Linked DNA regions of Homo sapiens: region 1 is linked to region 2. The links are contacts of gene promoters, found by promoter capture Hi-C in blood cells and fetal thymus (Javierre and others, 2016). All regions are on one chromosome and are shown on one strand. Each heading gives the region's core, a stretch centred on a gene start or on the middle of the fragment in contact. The rest is flanking DNA. Distances are from core to core; before and after follow the strand shown.

Evidence for each region. Contacts are between HindIII fragments. The CHiCAGO score rates a contact against its expected background, and 5 or more counts as called.
Region 1: a contact is called between the fragment with the promoter of TP53INP2 here and the fragment with the promoter of AHCY in region 2, in 15 of 17 cell types (naive CD8 T cells, activated CD4 T cells, total CD4 T cells and 12 more). The highest score is 17.0, in naive CD8 T cells.

Annotation. Positions count from the first base shown.
Region 1 is chr20:34,700,939-34,706,574 of GRCh38, forward strand. It overlaps TP53INP2 (tumor protein p53 inducible nuclear protein 2), which reads left to right and starts at 3,406. Exons shown (of 5, transcript NM_021202.3): 1 at 3,406-3,574; 2 at 4,420-4,536. It overlaps LOC105372599 (a long non-coding RNA gene), which reads right to left and starts at 3,244. Exons shown (of 2, transcript XR_936690.3): 1 at 3,199-3,244; 2 at 2,721-2,875. RefSeq lists a silencer at 3,202-3,681. The HindIII fragment of the contact is 9,202 bases long and covers 509-5,636 here.
Region 2 is chr20:34,299,264-34,304,865 of GRCh38, forward strand. It overlaps AHCY (adenosylhomocysteinase), which reads right to left and starts at 4,092. Exons shown (of 10, transcript NM_000687.4): 1 at 3,980-4,092. The coding sequence starts at 4,007. RefSeq lists a silencer at 3,467-3,696 and enhancers at 4,267-4,316, 4,337-4,456. The HindIII fragment of the contact is 32,031 bases long and covers 1-5,602 here.

The DNA.
Region 1 (5,636 bases), core at 2,156-4,655, 400 kb after region 2:
AAAGACTTAGCAGCCTAGAAATGGGGTTCAGCTAATTCTGGGAACAGAGTCCGGTCACTTAAGGTACCAGAGTGTAGCCAAGAGCCCCCTTTTCTGGGCTTGGGGAACCAGAACCATGTGTTCAACAGACCATTGCCTGTACACAGGGTAGAGAGTGCAGGTGTATACTCCTGAACCAGCCACCCTTCTTTTTTTTTTTTTTTTTTTTTTGAGATGGAGTCTCACTCTGTCGCCCAGGCTGGAGTGCAGTGGCACGATCTCTGCTCACTGCAAGCTCCGCCTCCCCGGTTCACGCCATTCTCCTGCCTCAGCCTCCCGAGTAGCTGGGACTACAGGCGCCCGCCACCACGCCTGGCTAATTTTTTGTATTTTTAGTAGAGGCGGGGTTTCACCGTGTTAGCCAGAATGGTTTCAATCTCCTGACCTCGTGATCCGCCCGCCTCAGCCTCCCAAAGTGCTGGGATTACAGGCGTGAGCCACCGTGCCCAGCCCCCAGCCACCCTTCTTAAGCTTCAAGCTATAACTACTGAGCCTGTGATGAAAGTCTACTCTATGCCAGACCCCCACAAGCTGGGTGCGGGCAGTATAGGGACAAAGACTCTGCCCTTGGGATGCCAACCATCCACTTGAGAAGACACATACACATACAATGAGTCATCATCACTTACTGTTTATGGACAAATAAACGTCCATCAAGGTAGCCATCAACTCGTGGGTAGGGACAAGGAAGGCTACCTAGAGGAAGAAAGGGTGAGTAGAATCTCTCCCTCTCTCTCTCTTTTTTAAGAGACAGGGTCTGGCTCTGTCATCCAAGCTGGAATGCAGTGGCTTGATCATAGCTCATTGTAACCTAAACCCAAGTGATCTTCTTATTTCAGCCTCCCTAAGCAGCTGGGACTACAGGTGCATGGCATCTGGCTAATTTTCTCATTTTTTGCAGATAAGTGGTCTCGCTATATTGGCCAGGCTGGTCTCAAACTCCTGGCCCCAAGCAATCCTCCTGCCTTGGCCTCCCAAAGTGCTGGGATTATGGCTGTGAGCCACCACACCTGGCCAAGTAGAATCTTGAAGACAGGAAAGATCTGGATTTCAGAAAGTTCTGAAGAAGGCATTCCAGGCAGGGGAAACAGCTTGAGCAAAAGGGTGGAGGTGGGAGAGTGCTGTAGAGTCAACAAGGAGTTTGACTTTAGCACAAGATGCGTGTAGGAGAAGGGGAGGTGAAGCTGGAGAGAACTGGGGCCGGAGCATGGGGGGCATGAGTTCTGTGTTAGGAGTGTGGGGCTTTAGGAGCCACATCAGGTTTTAGAACAAACAAGTGGCTTGACAGGAGAGACGTGTTAGGGATTATTTAATTAAAGTCAGCAAGTAGGTCTGAAAGGGTATGAGGTTAGCAGGAAGTGGCTGTGATGGGCAGAGGCTCAGAGTTGCATGGAATGAGGACACTTTGGGTATAACACTCCAAGGGCCACAATGCCACTCCCCTCTCCACCCCTCAGCCTTGGGTTATTTTTTTCTGGCTTCTTCCCCTGTCGCTAGGGTTAAGGAGTCCCTTGGGGGTTTCAGATGAGGCTGGGATAGAGTTTTATCACTAGAGTGCCGGGCACGGTGGCTCACGCCTGTAATCCCAGCACTTTGGGAGGCCGAGGCAGGCAGATCACAAGGTCAGGAGACCGAGACCATCCTGGCTAACACTAAACATACAAAAATACAAAAAATACAAAAAATTAGCCGGGCGTGGTAGCGGGCGCCTGTAGTCCCAGCTACTCGGGAGGCTGAGGCAGGAGAATGGCGTGAACCCGGAAGGCGGAGCTTGCAGTGAGCCGAGATCGTGCCACTGCACTGCAGCCTGGGCAACAAGAGCGAGACTCCGTCTCAAAAAAAAAAAAAAAGTTTTATCACTAGATCATTAACCTCTGGCCTAGGTCACCTCCGGCCTCCTTTTGGGCTAGGTGGGCAGTTCTCGGACCCTCCCCCACCAGCCCTGCTCTGCTGACCTAGAACCTCTGGCCCTGGAGATTCTGATATGTGTATTTGTGGTCTCTTCTCGGGCATCTCCCAGGCCACTGGGAGAGCTGGGGCCTAGAGCGTGGGGTGGGTGGAATCCTGAGGGCAGAGAGTGTGGAAGAATCTTACAATGGCAGCTCTAGAGGGAAGCCTGGATATGTTTGTTTGACAAACTGAGACCCAGAGAGGTAACATGACTTGAGGTCACACAGCAAGTCTAGGGCACAGTCAGGACTGAAAGCCAGGACTCTGGGGAGGCTAAAGCGCCCTGAGGTTTAGACCATCTGGTTCATGTAGAGAATGGAGAGGGTCAGGGCTGGGAGCTATGGGTTCAAATCCTGGCTCTGCCATTGACTGTACTTTTGTGACCTAAGAAAGTCACTTGAGCTCTCTGAGTCTGTTTCCTCAACTGTTAAACGGGACAATATCTACCTTTTGGGTTGTTGTGAAGATAAAAAAACACACCCATAGCACAGGTCGTGGCACACAGTAAGTGTGCCAATACATGTCAGCTAGTGGTATGGTGGTGCAATAGTAGGTGCCTAATAAATGTTGAATGCATTGTTGAACATGAGTTCACACGCTAACAGTGAGATTGTGAGACTCAGCTTTCCCACGTGTAAATCAGGACTCATAATCAGTCCCTGTCCTGCCACTTCTTTACAGCCCCGGTAGCAACATAGATTAAATAAGGTATGTAAACGTTCAAGCGCGGAGCCGTCTCAGGTCAATGTTTACTCAGCCCAGGGCAATTCCTCTCCAAGTCCTACTCTGCGAAATTTCACGTCAGCTTCACTAACTTCTCTACATTCCCAGATGCTCCCCGGGAACCGGGGGTTGGGGATGTCCCTCTTTTCTCAAGCCCGCCGAGCTGAGGAAAAACGGGGTGGGAAAGCAGAGTGTGTAAGGCTGAGGAGGTGAGCCAGAGGGGGGAGGGAGAGCAGGAATAAGGGCAGTGGGGAGAATGCAGGTGCACGGACGTGGTGTGGGTCGAGAACAGGGTCCGCATCGGGGGACTTGGATATAGGATGCAGTGAAAGGATTTGGGGAGCAGTGGGAGAGGTGAGGGCGCTGCGATCCGGGAAGAATCAGGAAAATAAGGAGCCGGTAGGAGGGAGTGGAGATCCTCCTCGCGGAGAGCTCGCCGCGGCGCAGGGCTCCCAGCTCCCCGCAGCTGCCTCCCCGAACACTCACCCTCCCGGTTCCGAGAACGTTTCCCGGCCCGAGCGCCCGGCCCGCAAACCGGGAGGGGAGGGGAGGGGAGGGGCAGGGGGGGATCCGCAGCCCGGGATTGGCCGCCGCCCCGCCAGCCGGTGACGCGAGGCGGGCGGGCCCCTTTGTGACGTCACAATCAGCTGTTTGAACGTTCCAATTTGTGCCGTGAGCCCCGCCGCAGCGGCCGCACAGACTCAAAGCCCCGCGGGCGAGCTCAGCAGCCCGGAGCGACCGCGGCCCCGCCGCCTCCCCCGCGAGTCCCGGCGATGCGGCCCGGCCTGTGAGCGGCCGGCGACCCTGGGACGCCCCGCCGCACAACTACCTCAACGCCGTGCCGCCCCCCTCCCGCCCCCAGGTGAGTCCCGACCCGGGTGGGCCTGGGGGCTCCCCTGCCACGGACACGCCCTGCGCCCCCCGCGCCCGGGCCTTTGTCTGTCTCCGCCGGCGGCCGCCGGGGCCGCGTTCCCGGCTCCCGATTGGTTGCCGCACGCCCGGTAGACCATGACGTCGTTCTATTTGCATATGACATTGAGACGTCACCAAGGCCGGTACCGCCCCCACAGGCTCGGGTCGCTTGTCCTCCCGTGACCCGGTAGCCGCTGTGTCGGGGCTGGGCCCTGGGTGAGACGCTGCAATCCAAAGGGGGCTGCAGGGGGATCGGCGATTTCCTAGGCTTATCCAGGGGCTGGGGTCAGGCCTCTGATCCCCTACTTTCTCTTTGCAACCTGAGAAGGAGTCAGACGGCGCTGCTGGGCCTAGGTTGAGGGGGTCGTCAGGAGTTCAGGGCTGCATGGGACTCCAGGTGGTTGGGACAGCACCAGATGGTGGTGGGATCCCCTCCCTCCGGCTCCAGACTCCGCCCCCAGGGACTAACAGAATAACATCCTCCTAATCCCTGATTTGTGTGCAGCGCCTTAGCTGATGTCACTCCTAGACCCAAAATGAAGGGTCTTAGACCCCAGTGCATGGAAGGGGCAACAGGCCCAGAGAGGAGGATTAGCTCTCTCGAGGTCACATAACCAATTAGAGTCATGCTCACTGAGTGACAGATGGATTATTAGCCAGGGGCAAAGACATAATAGGGGCTCAGTACAAGTGGTAAGATACACATCCTCCTTCCACTGGGGACCCGATCTTGGGCTCAGCCTTATCACGGTTTGATAGGCTCCTAGGTGTCCTTACTCCTGGACCCTTTTCCAGGGAATCTCTGGAGATTGGTTCACCTTTTGTGGTCCTGACCCCTTCTGTCCTCACTGTACCTTGAAGTCCTAGAGTCCAATAAAATCGCTGCCTCCCAGCTGTTTGGATCACAGAGAGGTGAGTCATTGGCTGCCTCGGGGTGTCTCCAGGGCTGATGTTGGGGTGGAGGGTGGGGTGAGGGTTCCCTCTATTGGCCCTTTACCTTCCCAACTTCCTAGGTCGTCAGCTAGGAAGGGCCTGACCTGGCCTAGTGCAGACAATTGCAGGTGTTTTGCTGCTCCCTCGTCACCTCTGCCCACAGAGAGTATAGGAGAAGGGATAGGATAAGGAGAGTTTCTGACTTAACAAGTGGATGGGCCTAGAGGCTGAACCAGGAACTCCATTCCTGCTGGGAGTTTGCTCAAGGATGGGCTGGGGGTAGGGGTGGCTTAGGGCACAAATGCTATTCTGGGCAGAGCTGCTGTAGTTATTAAAGGGAATGGTTCTCCCTGGAGCAGAACTGGGAATGTGAGAACCAGGAAGCTGGCAGGGCTGGGAAAGGAAATCTGGGAGGCTCCCCAAGTGGTCAGGAGAGGGGGCAGGCACTGGCTGGCTGGTGACTGCTTTCACTCCTGGCTGTCACTGACTTGCTGTGTGACCTCAGGCAGGGAGCTTTTCCCCTGAGCCTCCCTCCCCTAAACCTATCTGAAATTTGGGGAGGCACAGTGCAGGCTCTGGTACACAGTGGGTCTTCAGTAAATGCATGCTAAATCTTGGTGCCAGTAACCCCAGACCCTTTTGTAGCTAGGCGAGGGGTGGTGTGGCTAGGTCAAGGTCTTTTTCACCTCCCTGTACCCCTGCATCATTGTATTCTTGGGGATTGTTTGCTGAGTCTTTCCTGACTGTGTACACTCTGGACTGGATGCACAGTAACGTGGGACTAGGTCTGCCCTGCCACTATCTAGCCATGTATTTTTGGATAGATTTATGTCTTCTTTCTGATCATCAGATTTTAAAATGGGCTGGGTGAATATGATGGTCCCTGAAACAGCTCTTAACTTCTCTTTCATATTCCATGAATTAGTAGGTTCTTGGAAGGAGGATGTGCCTCATCAAGGCCTCGATATTCCCTTCCTTCAAGAGGGGCCAAACTTTCTGGGCTTTTGGTAATGGAGTCACTAGCTCCCTGTGGCTACATATGGGTTGGGATACATGAATTGTGCTGGGTGGACACTAGT
Region 2 (5,602 bases), core at 2,842-5,341:
AAAACTGCTCTTCCGTCCAAAGACCAGCCTGATCTCCATACCTGATGCAAAATTACCTAAGACCATGTTTCTACCAGCAGCACAGATTGCATGAATGACTTGCCCTCCTTCCTGAAACCCTTTCTTTACTTGGCTTCTGTGACTGTCCTGTGCTTTTCCACCTACCTTCCTGGTTCCTCTTTAGCTAACAGACTTTAGGGTTTGGGGGCCCTCAGGGCTCCATCATCTCCCAGTTCTCTTATGTTTACCAATTAAGCTCATCCAGTCTTATGGCTTTACATACCTTCTCTACGGGGATGACTCCCACGTATTTATATCCAGCCCAAACTACTCCCCTGAACTTGAGACTCGATGTGATCCAACTGCCTCCACAGCACCTCCACTTGGATGTCCAGTTGGATCTATTATGTGTCATGTTGGAGTCCTCATGGCTCCTTTGCCCCCACTACCGGTTACTCTCCCAATCTTCCCATTTTAGGAAATGAAACCACCATTCAACCAGCTACTCTGCCCAAAAACTTAAGATTTGATTCCTCTTTTCCTCTTTCACCTCAATCAGCACGTTTTTGGCTCAACAAGTGAAATATATAAGCAATCCAACTGCATCTCACCACCTTCATCTAAACTGTCACTTCTCAGGCTGGGCGCGGTGGCTCACAGCCTGTAATCCCAGCACTTTGGGAGGCCAAGGTGGGCGGATCACCCGAGGTCAGAAGTTCGAGAGCAGCCTGGCCAACATGGTGAAATCCCATCTCTACTAAAAATACAAAAATTAGTTGGGCGTGGTGGTGGGCACTTATAATCCCACCTACTCAGGAGGCTGAGGCAGGAGAATTGCTTGAACCTGGGAGGCGGAGGTGGCAGTGAGCTAAAATAGCACCACTGCACTCCAACCTGGGTGAGAGGGAGACTCTGTCTCCAAAAAAAACAATAAAGAAATAAATACACTGCCACTTCTCAGTTGGACACTGCCACACTCTCTTCACTGGTCCCATGCTCTAACATGCCATTCTCCCCACAGCAGCCAGAAGAGGGAGGCTCTTAAAAATTTAAGTTACATCACCTCCATCATTCTACTAAAGTAAACAAAACTAAACAAGCAAACCCTCCAATGGCTTCCCTCAATCTTCGGGCCCTATCTGCATGACTGCCTGCCCCTCCTCCATCTCTCCACTTTCCCCACTCACTAGCTGTTCAACACACAGGCTTCCTGACTGACTTCAGGCAAGCTCCACTCATTTCCACCTCAGGGCTTTAACCCAAGCAGTTCTCGGCCTGGAAGGCTCCTCTCAAGCACCTAATACAGTACCTGGCACACAGTAGGTGCTGAAAAAAACCTGGAAACAGGAAAGAACCTAGTATATCCCTGCTAGAGGAACCAAGAGTGCACCAGGGTGACTCAAATAGAGGCATAAGATGAGTTGGGACTTCAGTCCCAGTGAAGTGGGGAACCTACAGTTTTCAGGGGCCAGCATTCAGAGACCAGATTTGTCTTTTGAAAAGACCCCATTGGCTGCTGTGTGGATCTGCGGAGCAAGAGATCCAGGGAGACCTGCAAGGAGAGAGACCAGACTGGGGTGGTGACCGTGGAGACAGACAAGTGGCAGATCTGCTCACATAAAATGGAGACAATACTACTTTATCTGTATGCATGTCTGTGCCACCCCTGTCTCTGGGTCACCTTTGTGTCTCCAGCATGACCTGGCTCAGAGAAGGGGTCAGCAACTGTTTACCGACCATATCTGTCCTCAGAACTGAATGAAAGATCCATGAGAGGGGCTGGCACGTGACAAGGGTGGCAAAGAAAAACAACACAAATCTGAACCTAGTCTGAGTCCCAGCATTTACTAATGACCCAGAGAGGACCCAGAGAGGAGTTTGCTGCAGGTTCCATAGCCAATTAACCGCAGAACCAGAACTGGCAGCCAGGCAGGGCTAGAGCAGAGGCCCCTCTCAAGGCCCCTCCTGGGAGGGGCCCGGCTGTATGGGACAATGGGTTATGCCCTGTGCTGCTAAGCTCCACCCCTCCACCACCACATGTCCCTCCAGCTAAAAATAACTCCTTCAGTGCCCTCGAGGACACTGTGCCAGCCCCACAGTTTTCCCTGGGACCCTCAACTCCAAAGGCACAGGAGAGGCTAGATGCTGCAATCTCTGGAGCTAAGGACTTGCAAAAGTCACAGGAACACCTGTCCCCAGGACAAGCCAAGAGGAACAGCAAGAGCCCCTGTAAACATCAGTTTCTTCATCTGTAAAGTGTGGATAATCATCCCTAGCTTGCTATGCGCCTTAAGTAAAGATAATGCCATATGATCAAGATCTGGCATACAGCAGGGCCTCCTTCCTCCAGCCCCACCCAGCTAAGCTCCCCATCCCCAAATCCAGCTTTATCTCCACCCACACAACCCAATGGCCCCAATCCTGACCCACTAATCTCTCCACAGTATGACAAGCCCCCATTCCAGCTCTACTATTGATGTGACCTTCACATAACCTTTCTGGGTTCAGTTTCAGCATCCACACAATGGAGACAGTCTACTCTGGTAGCAACTTGATGAACTACTTCAACAGAATCTTTGCAAGTCACCTCCCAAGGGCCTCAGTTTCATGCTCTATATAACGGGATTACGTCCACCTCTATGAAGATTATTGTGTAAACACACGTAAATCACCAGATATACAGCAAGTGTTTCCATAAATGTGGATGGCATTCTCCAGACTTAATAGTGTCTTTTTTTGTTTGTTTTTTTTTTTTGAGACAGGGTCTTGCTCTGTTGCCCAGGTTGGAGCGTGGTGGTGCAATCTCGGCTCACTGCAACCTCCGTCTCCCCGGCTCAAACAGTCCTCCTGCCTCAGCCTCCCGAGTAGCTGGGAATGAAGGCGCCCGCCACCACGCCCAGCTAGTTTTTGTATTTTTGGTAGAGATAGCGTTTCACCACGTTGGCCAGGCTGGTCTCGAACTCTTGACCTCAAGTGATTCGCCCACCTCGGCCTCTCAAAGTGCTGGGACTACAGGGGTGAGCCACCACACCCGGTCCAATAGTGTCAAAGTTACTTGAAAAGCTACCAGCCAAACTGAACTGGTTTTTGCTGAAAATTCACTAGGATTGTTCCGCGTGTATTCGCTTGCACACAGTGGTGAAAGGGTGCGCTCAGAGATCTAGATGGCCTGCGTTCCAATCTTGCTCCATCACCACCAGCTGTAAGACTGAGGGCAAGTTACCTCTGCCTCAGGATTCTCATCATAAAATGAGAACAGTTTCCCTATAGAGCCATGAGACTAGAATAAAGCTAGAAGGCAGTGCCGATCCCACAGGAAACACTAAGTAAACGTTAACTATCCCTGTATTACACTTCAATCGGTGGGACAGCAGGATTTTTCAAACCACTCCAAATTTTCTTCGAGATTTCTGCAAGGCTGCCCCTGCTGGAGGGGTGGGGGACCCCACAGGTTGGGTAACTGGCCCAAAGTCCCAGGGGAGAGGAGGATCGGAGCCGGCCTGGGGCTCGCTTTCCAGGCCTCTCCTCATACACCCTCCGGGGTGCCCTCGCCGTCCCTGTAGGAGGCCCAGAGAGGGGTGGACGCTCGTCGGGGCCGCCCAGCTGGACAGGGTCCGGTCCAGGCCTAGGAGGCCGGGCGCAGGCCCCCCGAGCAGGGTCCGGCAGGTGCCAGCCGTCCCAGGCCGTGGCCAGGTGTGCTCTCCCGCGGAGCACGCCGCCAGTTTGCGGCTCGCAGACCGCGCGGCGGCCCCGGCGTCGCGGGGCATGCTGGGACTTGTAGTCCACGGCCACCCGGAACGGCCCGCTCATGGCCGCGCGAGAACTCCAACTTCCAGCTGGCTTCGCGCGGCCAGAAACGCGCCGAGGCTGCGATTCCAGGGGGTCCAGAGAGCCCCGAGTCGGCCCTGCAGCCCCCGCCACGAACAAGCCCCGGGCGGGTGCCGGGCGGCCGCAACCGGCTGCAGGTCCTGGGACTCACCGACTTTGTAGGGCAGTTTGTCAGACATGCTGGCGGCACTCGTGATGGAAACGGGCGAAGGGGGCTGGGCCTCAGTCTGGGAACAGGAACTGGGCGGGCAGCGCCGAGCAGGGATATGCGCGTGGCGCCGACGCCTTTAAATATCTTCCTCGCACTTGCATATTCATGACCCGCTGGGGCGGGGCCCAACGCGCAGGGCGGAGCCGGAGGGGATTTCGATCCCTGAAAAGAAGCCTCAGAATTTCACAAGGCGTGGCCCCAGGAGTCTCACTCACCGGTCCGGAAGGGAGCGCCGGGAGAGGCCTGAGAGCCAGCCGGGCCGTCCTCTCGCTGGTTCAGCCAGTTGATTCAGTGTCAAAACCCAGCGGAACTGAAATTCCGCCAGTTCACTTCCCTGTGCCTCAATTTCCTCATCTGTAAAATGGGCCAAATGACATCTGCCACACAGATTATTATAAGTAAAGTTGCAGGCCAGGCGCGGTGGCTCACACCTGTAATCCCAGCACTTTGGGAGGCCAAGGCGGGAGGATCGCTTGAGCCCAGGAGTTCAAGACCATCCTGGGCAACACAGTGAGACCTGAACTCTACAAAAAAAAATTAAAAATTAGCCGGGCGTGGTGGCGCGCGCTTGTGGTCCCAGCTACTTGGGACGCGGAGGCGGGAGGGAGGATCTTTTGAGCCTGGAGATCGAGGCTGCAGTGAGCTATCATCCCACCACAGCACTTGAGCCTGGGCGAAAGGGCAAGACCCTATCTCAAAAAAACCAAAACAAAGTTAAGTTGCCATTTGTCAGGTACCTACTGACATCCCAAACATTCGCCTTACTCCAAGTAACCAACACCCTGAATTTAAGTAAGTTTGCATACATTTCTTATACTTTTACTGCATCCGTATATCATTAAATAGTTCTGTGTTTAGCACCTTTATATATCAACCGTATTTACCCTTCTGCAACTTGCTTTTTTCTGTGAGCATTATATTTATGAGACTCATGCATATAGCTTGAGTATATTCATTTTTGCTGCTGTATAATTCAGTCATCCCAGGCATGGGAAGGGGAAATTGGTTTCAGGACCTCTGTGGACTCCAAAACCCTTCTATGTTCAAGTCCCTCATATAAAATGAGGCAGTATTGGCATATAACCTATGCACATTCCTCCGTACACTTTAATCATCTCTAGATTACTTATAACTAATATAATGTAAATGCTATGCAAATGGTTGTTTTGTAATTTGTATTATTTTTATAGTTATGTTTTTTTAATTGCTTTTTTTCCCCTGAATTTTTTTTTTTTTTTATGGAGTCTCACTCTGTCGCCCACACTGGAGTGCAGTGGCACCATCTAGGCTCGCTGCAACCTCCACCTCCCGGGTTCAAGCAATTCTCCTGCCTCAGCCTCCCGAGTGGCTTGGATTACAGGCACGCACCACCACACCTGGCTAATTTTGTTTTTTCTTTTTTTGAGATAGAGTTTGGCGCTTGTTGCCCAGGCTGGAGTGCAATGGCATGATCTTGGCTCACACCAACCTCTGCCTCCCGGATTCAAGCGATTCTCTTGCCTCAGCCTCCCGAGTAGCTGGGATTACAGGCATGAGCCACCACGCCTGGCTAATTTTGTATTT